2 separate regions of the Homo sapiens genome follow, and region 1 is linked to region 2. The links are contacts of gene promoters, found by promoter capture Hi-C in blood cells and fetal thymus (Javierre and others, 2016). All regions are on one chromosome and are shown on one strand. Each heading gives the region's core, a stretch centred on a gene start or on the middle of the fragment in contact. The rest is flanking DNA. Distances are from core to core; before and after follow the strand shown. Region 1 overlaps ZNF473 (zinc finger protein 473). Region 2 holds the start of CTU1 (cytosolic thiouridylase subunit 1).

Region 1 (6,037 bases), core at 1,862-4,361, 1.1 Mb before region 2:
CCCAGGCTGGAGTTCGGTCTCACTGGAACCTCCACCTCCCCGGTTGAAGCGATTCTCCTGCCTCAGCCTCCCAAGCAGCTGGAATTACAGGCGTGCACCACCATGCCTGGCTAATTTCTGTATTTTTGGTAGATACGGGGGTTTCACCATGTTGATCAGGCTGGTCTTGGACTCCAAACTTCAGGTGATCCGCCTGCCTTGGCCTCCCAAAGTGCTGGGATGGCAGGCATGAGCCACTGCACCCAGCCGCTTTTTAAACTTAAATTTAATTTTTTTGGCCGGGTGTGGTGGCTCATGCCTGTAATCCCAGCACTTTGGAAGGCCGAGGTGGGTGGATCACGAGGTCAGGAGATCGAGACCATCCTGGCTAACACGGTGAAACTCCGTCTCTACTAAAAATACAAAAAATTCTCCGGGCGTGGTGGCAGGCGCTTGTAGTCCCAGCTACTCAGGAGGCTGAGGCAGGAGAATGGCATGAGCCCGGGAGGCAGAGCTTGCAGCGAGCTGAGATCGCGCCACTGCACTCCAGCCTGGGCGACAGAACGAGACTCCGTCTCAAAAAAAAAAAAAAAAACAAATTTAATTTTTTTTTGGAGGCAGGATCTTTCTCTGTCATTCAGGCTGGAGTACAGTGACACAATCATAGCTCACTGCAGCCTTGAACTCCTGGGCTCAAGTGATCCTCCTACCTCAGCCTCCCAAGCGATCCTCCTACCTCAGTCTCCCAAGTAGTTGGGACTACAGGCACGTGCCACCACAACTTGCTCATTTTTAATTTTTTTTTTTTAGAAACAAGGTCTTGTTACGTTGCCCAGGCTGGTCTCGAACACCTTTCAGCCTCCCAAAGTGCTGGGATTATAAGCATCCCCCACTTGCCTAGCACTGGTGGGGGAGCTTTAAATGGGCACCAGTGAACTAACTTCGTGGGATGTAGACCCAATGTTGCCAAATCCTAGGATGTTTCAGAAGTTGGAAACATAATTTTTAGGTGAAATTTCCCAATTTTCAAGTTTGAGACTAGTGAGCCATGCTTGAATTTTCTTTCAAAACATTCTGTCTGCCAACAAACATTATGGGCCAAATATCTGTCAACTGAGTTATACTCGTAGGTTGAGGCTTAACCTCTGACATGTAGAAAAACTCATTGTTCAGTAGAATTAGCATTTATTGTAGGTCTACCATATTCCCATATTTGTAGTCTCAAAAATCTGGACAACTCAGAACAACAAATTTTTTTTCATAAATTTAGTGTCCGTGCCTTACCTGAACTACTACAGGGTATTTTTTAAATATAACTTTAAATTATTCTACCTAGAATGAACGATGATACTTTTCTCTAGGGTAAAGTGTTCAATTATGAAATGCAGCCTGATCCACACTGCGCTGGGACTTTGTTTTGTTTTGTTTTTGTTTTTGTTTTTGAGACGGAGTCTCGCTCTGTCGCCCAGGCTGGAGTGCATGGCGCCATCTCGGCTCACTGCAAGCTCCACCTCCCGGGTTCACACCATTCTCTCGCCTCAGCCTCCTGAGTAACTGGGACTACAGGCGCCCACCACCATGCCTGGCTAATTTTGTTATTGTATTTTTAGTAGAGACGGGGTTTCACCGCGTTAGCCAGGATGGTCTGGATCTCCTGACCTCGTGATCCGCCTGCCTTGGCCTCCCAAAGTGCTGGGATTACAGGCATGAGCCACTGCGGCCAGCCCTGCACTGGGATTTTAATGAAATATGCCATGTATATGCCATATCACCTTTTGAAAATAAAAGTTGAATTTCAAAGCACATCTGGCCTTGGAGTTTGAAGAATTTGTGGACCTGTGTCATTGTTAAGTGATCCGTGCTGCTTTGTGATATGAAATGCTTTCAGCACTCCGCAGATATGTGCTACTTGGTCCACGCAGTGGATACAAATGGGTAAAAATGTCTGTGGTACAGTTTTGCGTATTATGGGTCATGAAAATAACTAGGTGGGCAGTGACTATGATTTTTTAATGAAGTAGAATAAAAGAGACTAGAATAGAAAACATCCCAGTGCATCTTACATTGCAGGGTAAGTATTGCTTCATGAAGCTTTTGTTTAGTTACACTGTGTGTTTGAGTAGTCATGATACTTTTTTTTTTTCTTTTTTGAGATGGAGTCTCACTGTGTTGCCCAGGCTGGAGTGCGGTGGCACCATCTCGGTTCACTGCAGCCTCTGCCTCCCGGGTTCAAGTGATTCTTTGCCTCAGCCTTCCGAGTAGCTGGGATCACAGGCACGTCCCACCAAGCCCAGCTAATTTTTGTATTCTTAGTACAGACGGGGTTTCAGCATATTGGCCAGGCTGGTCTTGAACTCCTGACCTCAAGTAATCTGCCCACCTCGGCCTCCCAAAGTACTGAGATTACAGGCGTGAGCTACTGTGCCTGGCCTATTCTACATATTGGTGGTGTTACTGTGGGTCACGGTTAAAACAAAAGTTGAAATATTTCTGTTGTAGAGATAGTGGCCAGGTGCGGTGGCTCACAACTGTAATCCCAGCACTTTGGGTGGCCCACGAGGGCGGCTTACTTGAGGTCAGGAGTTTGAGAACAACTTGGGCAACAAGTGAGATCCTGTCCCTACAAAAAGTGAAAAAGATTAGCTGGATGTGGTGGCACATGCTTGTAGTCCCAGCTGCTTGAGAGGCTGAGGTTGGAGGATTGCTTAAGCCCAGGAAATTACAGCTGCAGTGGCCCATGATTGTGCCACTGTAGTACTCCAGCCTGGCAACAGAGCAAGACCGTGTCTCCAAAAAAGAGTAACAGTTTCGGAGGCCAATTTACCTGAACTCAAATTCCAGAGATGATAATCAGAAATCCCAGAAGCATTGTTCCATTGGTTCTTTAGACACCTTCGTTCTGTCAACAACTGTAGGTACTTTTACACCTACTGTTAAAGCACCTACTGCGTACTAGGCACCATGCTGGTGCTAAGACACAGCAGTGAGCAAGACAGAAGCTCCCACTGTGGCCATAGACTTTCATCACCAAATCTCCTAAACATGTGCTGACTGACTGTTAGGTGCTAACCCACCATTGTTGGTGGCGAAGCTGTTCTGTAGGTTCTGAAGCACAGTGCAAATGTGGGGCTGAGGTGGCTTCAGTAAATATAGTTGTTGTTGTCCCCTGCAGGGAGACTCACATTGGGACTTGTCCTCCTCCTCCTGGACATTTTGGGGGCTCGTCAGCATGGACAGCGAGTCAGCCATGGGTGGAAGGGAGGCTTTCTCACAGCTCCCTTGTGCTTCCCACAGCCCTGCCAGCCGGGAACACGGAGGGGAAGGAGGAGGAGCTTAAAAGAGGCTACTGAACCCCAGTTGGCCATGGCTGAGGTGAGTTGAAGGTCGCTCTGTCCTAATCGGTCACACCCAAAGGCAGAAAAATTGGCCTTCCTTTGTGGCCGAGGCGAGTTGAAGGTCGCTCTGTGTTGATTGGTCACCCCCATGGCAGGAAAGCTGGCCTTCCTTTGTTTTGGCCTCCCTGTCCCATGGTGGCTCCCAGGCGATCTTTTTTAAAGGAAAGCTCGCATGCTGTTCTTTCCTGTTTGTACTCTTCTGGGAACCCCTATTGCTTATAGAATAAATTCCAGGTTTTTCAGCCTTCCTGTGTGTTCTGGCTTCTACCCTCTTTGCACCATCTTCTGTCATTTCTCTAGATAACAAATACTCCCTTTGGCCTAGTAGTAAAAGTTGATTCTGTACTTTCCAGCAGCTTCCTTTGCTCAGGTTGGGCCCTCTGCTGGAATTCCCTGCCCCTTTTCCATGTGGTAGTGTCTCACACAGCCTTTAAGACCCGGCTCAGTTCCCCCACCCTTCCCTAGGCAGTCAGCACTTTCCTGCTCTAGCCTTCCATAGTACCCCCTGCTGCCTCCACTGTAGCACAGATCCACCTAGATATGGATGTTCCTGCCCATATCTGTCAGCCCCACCAGACTAGATGCTCCTTGGGGACAGGAACTGATGGGGATTCATCTCTGGGTCCCCAGGGCCCAGCACAGGCCAGGAACACAGGAAGCCTCATGAGGTGTTAGTTGAATGAATGAATGAATCAATGAATGATGCATGAAACCATCTCTCTATCTGGTAAATATCTGTTCATCCTTAGTGATCCAACTTGAATGACCTTCCCTCCAGGAAGCTTTCCCTGACCTCAAGGCAATGGCCTCCCTCTCCCCCTTGGCCCACACAGTCCCCGATACCTCCCTTTGCCACAGTCCTACCTCCCTCGTGTCTCTCCGTCAGACCATGAGCTCCATGAGGCCAGGAAACAGGTCTGACACACGTCCATGTCCCCAGTGCCCACAATGTGGTCTAGCACACAGGGTAAATGATTGCCAAATATGTGCTCTGACCTTGTCACTTTCCTGTGGCTCCCCAGTGCCTCAAGGATCTAGTCTGCCCCGTCTTCCCACCTCCTTCATCACTGTGACAGGGGCCTTGTCCAGCGCAGTCTGGGAGTGTGAGGAAAGGAAGCCCCTCAAAGGTCCTCTTTGATCTGGCTCCTGCTTGGCTGCTACTCTTGACAGGATATAGACAGCAACAGTTTCTGTTATAAGTACCAGAAATTGACTTACGCAGTCAGGAGACTATTAATTATATAACCAAAAGTCCAGAGGTAGGGCTGTCATGATCTGCAGGTGTGACTGGGACTCAGTTTATTGTCCCCATCTTGAACCTCACTTAGTATGGGTTCCATCCTTCATGAGCTCCTTCCCTTGTCCCAAAACAGCTATCAGGACCATGTGCTGCTTTGCCTCATTCAACAAGTATTTACTCTGTGCCTGTCATGAGTGGGCTTTGTTGTAAGTCTGGACTAGGGAAACGGTTTAGGTGGTTCCTGCCCTCATGAAGCTTACTTTATTGCGGGTGACAGTGTATGAGCTTGCTAGGGCTGCTGTAACAAAGTACCACACACTGGGTGGCTGAAAACAACAGAAATTGGTGGTCTCCCAGTCTTGGAGGCCAGAAGTCTAAGATCAGGGTGTTGGCAGGGCTGGATCCTTCTGAGGCTGTGAGCCAGGCCTCTCCCCTGTGTTCTGGCAGATGGTGGCCAGCTTTGGTGTTCCTCGGCCTGGAGAGGCATCACCTCAATCTCTGCCTTCATCTTCACAGGATGTCCTCCCTGTATCTTCACATTGTCTTCCCTCAGCCTGTGTTTGTCTTTGTGTCCCCATTTCTCCTTTTTATAACAACTTCAGTCGTTTTGGATTAGGACCCACCCTGATGACCTCATCTCAGCTTGATCACCTCTGTAAAGACCCCATTTCCAAATAAGGGCAAATTCTGAGGTACTGGGGGTTAGAACTTCATTGTATCTTTTTAGAGGGTTACAGTTCAACCCATACCACACAGTAAAATGCATTAAGTAAATCCCATAGAATGCAGGCAGTATTAAGGATTATGGAGGAAAGGGATAGGGAGGCCCAGGGTAGATTTGCTGTTTTATACAGAGGGGTGGGAGAAGGCTTCATGGAGAAGAGGCATTTCAGCAGAGAACTGAGGGACACAATCTTGGCTCTAAGATGGGGTCTGGCAGGTGTGTTCAGGGAGCTGCAAGGAAGCTGGTGTGGCTGGAGCAGAGTGGATGAGCAGGAAAGGGGGAGAAGGTGAGCCCTGAGTGGCAGCTGGGGCCAGATCTTTAGGGCCCTGGAGATCATTGTATGGTCTCTGTCTTTAAATATGGTGAATCCGGAGGCCGTTGGAGGGTTTGGAGCAGAGGAGGGACAGGATTTGTTGTAAGCGGAAACAGGATCCCCCTTGCTCGTCCACCCAATTCCTGCTTAGCATCACCACTGGGACGACTGTTTCAGGGTCTTACTGCTGCTGTAACAAATAATACAAACTTGTGGGCTTAAAAACAACACAAATTTATTCTTTTACAGTTCTTCAGGTCTGAATCCCAAAATGATCTCACGGGGCTCAAACCAAGGTGTCAGCAGGGTGCGTTCCTTCTGGAGGCCCTAGGGAAGAATTCAGTCCTTGCCTCTCCCAGCTTCTGGAGGCTGCCTATATTCATTGG
Region 2 (6,628 bases), core at 3,852-6,351:
AAAAGACAGAATAAAAAAGTTATCTTCCAGCACTTTGGGAGGCCGAGGTGGGTGGATCACGAGGTCAGGAGATCGAGATCATCCTGGCTAACATGGTGAAACCCCGTCTCTACTAAAAATACAAAAAATTAGCTGGGCGTGGTGGCAGGCACCTGTAGCCCCGGCTACTCGGGAGGCTGAGCCAGGAGAATGGCGTGAATCCGGGAGGCAGAGGTTGCAGTAAGCCGAGATCGCACCACTGCACTCCAGCCTGGGAGACAGAGCGAGACTCTGTCTCAAAAAAAAAAAAAAAAAAAAAGTTATCAAAGAGGAGAGGCCAACCAAGAAAAGGAATTAAGAGATGGAGATGCTTTTTAGAGAAAGAGCTGGATTCTGAAAGGTGGACCATAAGAGATCAAGCATGTTAGAAACATTTAAAAATAAGTAAAGGACCAGAGATCTCCAGAGATTTTCACCTCCCACCCCTTTGGCAATCTGTGGAGACCAAGACGGTGGCCAAGACCCAAAAACCTTTGTGATCACTGCCTGGCCCCTCTGTCTCCCCAGCGTCTTGAACCTTTAAAGGGCCCCAGCCCCAAACTGCAGCATGCGCCCTTCCGCACCTCCGTACAGGGATCCTCCCATTAAGCCACCAGGGTCTCCTCGCCGCCTTCTGGAGCATGCGCCTGAATCCCCTTTCAGGTCCCGCCTCCTCGCCTGTGCATTCGCCCCACTGCCTCGGAGAGTGCCGCTCTGCGGCCCGTACTACGCTCACCTGTCACGATGTGCGTGGCTCCCACGCGGCGCGCCCCTTCCTCCAGCGCCCGGCGCCGCAGCACTCCACAGAAGGTGCAGCAGGAGCGGCTGCGGCCGGAGCCGGCTGTGCTGCGGGCCACGGCGTCCATCGTCCAGCCCCCAAAGAGGTCTTCGTAGGCCACGACCGTGAGCGGCAGCTCCCAGCGCGCCGCCTGGCGCCGCACGGCCGCCAACGCCGCGTCCCGGTAGCCACCGATGCCCTCATCGACGGCCACGAGCTGCAGTGAGATGCCCAGGCGCGGCGCCAGCGCGCGCAGCACGTGCGCCAGCACCGTGGAGTCCTTGCCGCCCGAGGCGCCCACGGCCACCACCGCGCCGGGCGGCAGCAGGCGGCCGGCGAGCACCGTGTGCAGCACCTCGGCCTCGAAGGCGGCGCAGAAGCAGGCACCGCACAGCGCTTGGCCCGAGAGCGGACGGCGGAGGGCGGCGCGTGCAGCATGGCAGGAGGCGCACGGCGGGGCGGGCATTGCGGGAGGGGTCGGCTTCTCCTAGACAGGGAGAGAGAGGAGGTGGGTTACATATGGATTCCGGATTGCAGGGTCCCTGCCATCGGGGAGATTGTCTGGATTGCACCTCTGCCCGGAATAGACCAGGGAGACGTGTGCGCGAGTGGAGTAGCTTCTTCTAGCGCTGGGGATAGGATGGTTATAAATAGGTCCGGTGTAAGGAAGCCACTGCCTTAGGGAAGGCTTCTTGGATTGCACCCATTATGCAAGAAGAAGAGAAGTAGCTTAAGAAGCTGGCTTCATGGGTAAAGAGAGGGAGCGACAAGCAGGTTATACCCAGGATTAGGTTGTGTCCTCTCCAGAGGGATGGGGGTGTATATTAAGGCCCATTTGTCACAACCTCCAGGGAGGCCACCCTTGTTACAGTCCTGATCAGGACAAGGTAGGTATCATTGGCCTGGGCCACCAGGGCTGTTAAAAGCCCTTGGGAGGTGAGGGGTTTTTGACTCTAAGGGCAGAGGGAGGCCAGGGGACTGAAGCTCTGTGCAGCGGGAGGTGGAAAACAGGAAAGGCCAACTGATTGCACTTTGTAGGGTGGGATACGGTCTCCAGGAATGGGTTCTGATTGCATCCTATGAAAGGCAGGGTGATCACCTTCTCCAGGGAACACAGGCAGCCTGGATCACACCTCTCAGGAGACCAGCTGGGGTTGCACACATTTTGAGGGTGAGAAAATGGGTGGGCCTCCAAGATTGAACTCAACCCTGCTCTGGTATCAGAATGCCCCACAAGCTTCTGTGCTCTCACCAAGACATGGATCGGCCCATCTTTGACCTTCATCTGTTATCTTTCCTACTTCATTCTTCCCCACCCAGCCTAGACTCCAACCCTCCAGTCAAATCCTGGTCCTGCCTGCCTGGTGAACCCATAAAAACTCCCCAGGCTCAGTTCTCCTCCCCAAGCCACCATCACCTCCAGCCTGGACTACTGTAGTCACCTCCTTGCCATTCAGAGCAGGTCACGCTGCTTCTAGGATTTACCACAATGTGTGGAATTATTTTATGTGACTATATATTTACCATCTCTAACTTCTATGAGGGCAGAGACCAGTACCACTCAGATGTCTAATAGGCATCTCAAAACCCAAATTCCTGATTCTTCTAACCCAGCGTGCTTCTCCTGGAGTACAGGGCAGCTCCATCCTTCTAGCTGCTCAGGCCAGGAGCTTTGGGGTCCAGGACCCTGGACTGCTCTTTCTCTCACTGCACTTGTCATGCTCCCAGTGGGTGGCACCAAACTGCAATGCCAAGTCCGGACCTTTTCAAACTCCAGGTACCTAAATGAAATTTAGCAAATCCTGTTTGAATGTAGTTTCAAAACAGCCAAACACTTAGGACCGTCTCCACGGCAGCACCCTAGTCTGGTCTGTCTCTCTCCTGGACGGCTGCATGGGGCTCCCCACAGGTCTCCTGCTCCCGCCTTGCCTCCTCTACAAACACTCCTTCACATAACAGCCAGTGGGATCATGCCCTGAATCTTCTCAGCATCCTCCCCTGGATCCCATCTCACTTTAGTATAATAACTGCTAATGGCCGATGAGGCCCTACATGTGTGGCTCCTTGTTTCTCCAACCTCCTCTCCTTCAGCCTTGATGTCGTTTACTCTGACACCTGAGGAATACTCCTGCTCCAGATGTTTGCACTGGCTCTCCCCTCTGCCCTGAGTACTCTTCCTGCCACTGAGCCCAAGAAGCAGCCCTTAGGACTCATCTGCAGTGACCGTCGGGAACATCTGTCACAGGTGAGCAGCAACTCTTGGAATCTTTCTTCCCCCGACTTTTGACTCACTCCTTCTGTGCTCCTGGATTTCCTGCTCAATTCTCTTTTGGGGACGCCTCTTCATGTCCTCAGGTCCTGCCTAGCACCCATCTCTTTCCATTTTTTAAAGATTTTTAATTTAATTTAATTTAATTTTTTGAGATGGAGTCTGGCTCTGTTACCCAGGTGGAATGCAGTGGCACAATCTCGGCTCACTGTAACCTCTGCCTCCCAGGGTCAAGCGTTTCTCCTGCCTTAGCCACCCGAGTAACTGGGACTACAGGCGTGTACCACCATGCCTGGCTAATTTTTTTTTTTTTTTTTGTATTTTTAGTAGAGATGCGGTTTCACCATGTTGGCCAGGCTGGTCTTGAACTCCTGACCTCAAGTGATCCGCCCGCCTCGGCCTCCCAAAGTGCTGGGATTACAGGCGTAAGCCACTGTGCCCAGCTTCTTTCCATTCTTATGAGCGCCTCTGAATCATGATATTCAGATGTCCCTCCTGGCTGGTCCTCCACATGGCTGGGGCACCTTAAAGATGTTCAGACCCTAAGCGCCCAGACAACCTATTTCTTCCTCGAAAGGCAGAAACCTGTTCTTGCCCATCTGTTCCCTCTCTTCTGAGAGCAGCCACCACCTTTCATCCAGCCCATCTGCAGGACAGGACGTAACGTCACCCTGGACTCATCTCTCCTCACCCCCTAAATCTACAGTCACCCAGTCCTGGGGGGTCCACGTCCTGAGGAAGGGAGACGCTCGCAGGGGACAAGGCTGCACAAGTTAGCAGAGCCTCATAGGCCATGATGTGGAATTTTAGGTTTATTCAGGAGGAGATGGGAGCCTTGGGAGGTTTTTGAACAGTAAAGTGGTATGATCTGGCATGTTTTAAAAGGATTCCTAGACTGGTCAACATAGCGAGACCCCATCTCTAAAAAAATAAATAAATAAATTAGCTGCACCTGGTGGCACAGGCCTGTAGTACCAGCTACTCAGGAAGCCAAGGCAGGAGGATCACTTGAGCCCAGGAGGTCAAGGCTGCAGTGAGCCATGATCGCACCAGTGCACTCCAGCGTGGGTGATAGAGTGAGACCTTGTCTCAAATAAAAAAAGTGGGATTCGTTTGGCTGCTGTGTGGGGAGGACTGTTGGTTGTCAGGGACAAGGACAGAAGGCTGGAGGTCAGCACACTAGACAGGAGTGCTGGCAGTAGAGGTGGGAAGAAGTGAAATTTTGGATCTATTTTGAAGGTGGAGCCCACAGGACTTGTATAAGACTGATTGGAGTGGGGACTGGGGCAACGACGAGAGAAAGTGATGAAGGGTAACTTTGAGGTTCTGGCCTGAGCATTGGAGGGACGGTGGGGCCATTTTGTGAGGTGAGAAGACCAGGAATTCCATTTGGCCACGTCAGGTTTGACATGCATGTTAAGCGTCTTCCCTCAAAGACTTTATGGACCCTCGTCACTGAGTCGAGCGCCTCCACCAGGGCCCTCAGAGCTGCCCTGATCCTGACTAGCTGTCACTGGTGACAGGTCTGTCTCTCTGCTTCAAGGCAGGGACAGGGTTGGTCTGGTGCCCTCGCTCCCGCCGCCCTGCGCAGAGTCGGTGCTCAGTAAGTATCTGTAGGATGAGGGAATAATAAGTGCTCCCAGAAGAGAGGCCGCGGACCCCAGGGATGCCTCTGGATTGCAGCCTTGTCAAAAGGACAGATAATGTGTGGCATGGGGGCGGGGACAGGCAGATAGTAACATAGGGGCGGGGGCAAGCAGATGGTCTTATCCTGTCTTGGGGAAGGGAGTGGCCCGGTAAGAGACAGGCCGGACCGCAGCGTTCAAAGTGGGAATCCTGGCTACAAGGCCTCAGGGACACGGGCGCTGGGAAATCACAGAGGCCTTACGCTCGAAGAGACCCTCAACCCTCCCACGGCACCGCAACAAAGAGCCGGAGTCCACATGCCGACCCACCGCAGGAGGAAATACTCACCCGGGCAGAACTCAGTGCTGGGATGCCCACACTGCCCACCACGCGGAAGCCTGGCCCGGAAGTGACTCCGAGACTACCACTCCCATAAGGTCTTGGGGCTTTCTTGCCTAGAACTCCCAGAAGCCCATGCGACACTTCCGCTGGATGCGCCTACGGCTCCGGGGTCCCGCTTGGCCTACAACTCCCAGAAACACTTGCATTGCTCTTTCTGCCGCTCCCAAAATACACTGCTCCCCCTCCCCCCGCGTTTACTTTCTGCGCCTGCGCGCGGCCGCAGGGAGCGGCGGAGCTGCGTGTACTGTTGTCATGGCAGCGCGCTGTCACCCGGCAGGTTGCTGGATGGGCGAAGTAGTTGTATTCTGATTAACTGATTTTGTGGGATTATTATAGGATTTTAAGGGGATTACAGGGCCTATGATTTCTGCCCTTTGAGGCGGGGTTGCGGGTGGGAATTGAAGGTGGAACTGCAGGGGTTGGTCGCTAGTGTAAAAGGCGCAGATAGCGCATGCGTAGAGCAGACTTCGAGGATTGGAGTGGAACTCCGCGCGCACGCGGGGGCTGTCGTGATGCGCGTGCTGGAGACCCAGACTCTAAACAGAAGGATCCAAAGACCCTTCTCACCTAACCCAGGAGCCCAGAGGCTCAGAGACTCAGACCCTTGAGACTAAGGGGGTTAAAAACGCAGACCCCTGGCACCAAAGCACCTGAGAGAACCAGTAGACCTGGAGACAACCGTCTGCACCCTAGACACAGGGATCTGGAGGCCTCCACCCTCCCCACAAGGCCCAAGGGTCTTGAAGACCCCGGTGACTCAAATACCGGGGCACAAGGAGTTTAAGGACTCAGATATCTGAGACCCTTGAGATCCAGGTCCCCAAACCTAGGTCCTCGAAAAAACTGAGGCTCAAAATTCCTCTAGACGGCGCGGTGGCTTACACCTGTAATCCCAGCACTTTGGGAGGCCGAGGCGGGTGGATCACGAGGTCAAAAGATGGAGACCATCCTGGCCAACATGGTGAAACCTCATCTCTACTAAAAATACAAAAATTAGCTGGGCGTAGTGGTGCGCGCCTGTAGTCCCAGCTACTCGGGAGGCTGAGGCAGGAGAATGGCTTGAACCCAGAAGGCAGAGGTTGCAGTGAGCCGAGATCGCGCCACTGCACTCCAGCCTGGCCACAGAGTGAGACTCTGTCTCAAAAAAAAAAAAAAAATCCTCTAGATTAAGGGACCACCAGAGCCTTAGACTGAGATGTGGAGATGTGCAGAGAGCCCCAGGATGTGTAGGTCTACGGCCGGTGATGACGTGAGAAGGAACCCCATGCACCCTGTAGCCCATTTTTTTCCCCCATAACAGGAAACCATGATGCCTTCCTTTCATATTAAATGAGCTCCGTGAGGTCACTCTTAAGCCTTATCATGGGCCAGTTCTGTTCATCTGTGTGCGTTGGTTCATTTGTTGAATTTATTTCCTGAGGTCTCCTTGTGCCAGGCTGCCCCTGGGCTAGGTTTAGGTGACACAAATGAATCAGACTTGGTTACTGTCCTCTGAGCATCCCCCACCCCTTACACCACCACCCTGTCCTCCTGGT

The links. The method cuts DNA at HindIII sites, captures the fragments that hold promoters and counts their contacts. A CHiCAGO score of 5 or more calls a contact.
Region 1: a fragment that was not itself captured here is called in contact with the fragment with the promoter of CTU1 in region 2 in 1 of 17 cell types (naive CD4 T cells); the score reaches 5.2 in naive CD4 T cells.

What each region holds. Positions count from the first base shown.
Region 1 is chr19:50,027,741-50,033,777 of GRCh38, forward strand. ZNF473 (zinc finger protein 473) reads left to right here. Exons shown (of 5, transcript NM_015428.4): 2 at 3,152-3,351. The coding sequence starts at 3,343. Among named protein-coding and RNA genes, the nearest start is that of ZNF473, 4.8 kb to the left of the region's middle. The HindIII fragment of the contact is 2,086 bases long and covers 2,069-4,154 here.
Region 2 is chr19:51,103,308-51,109,935 of GRCh38, forward strand. It overlaps CTU1 (cytosolic thiouridylase subunit 1), which reads right to left and starts at 5,102. Exons shown (of 3, transcript NM_145232.4): 1 at 5,040-5,102; 2 at 755-1,283. The coding sequence starts at 1,262. RefSeq lists an enhancer at 5,068-5,397. The HindIII fragment of the contact is 4,633 bases long and covers 2,032-6,628 here.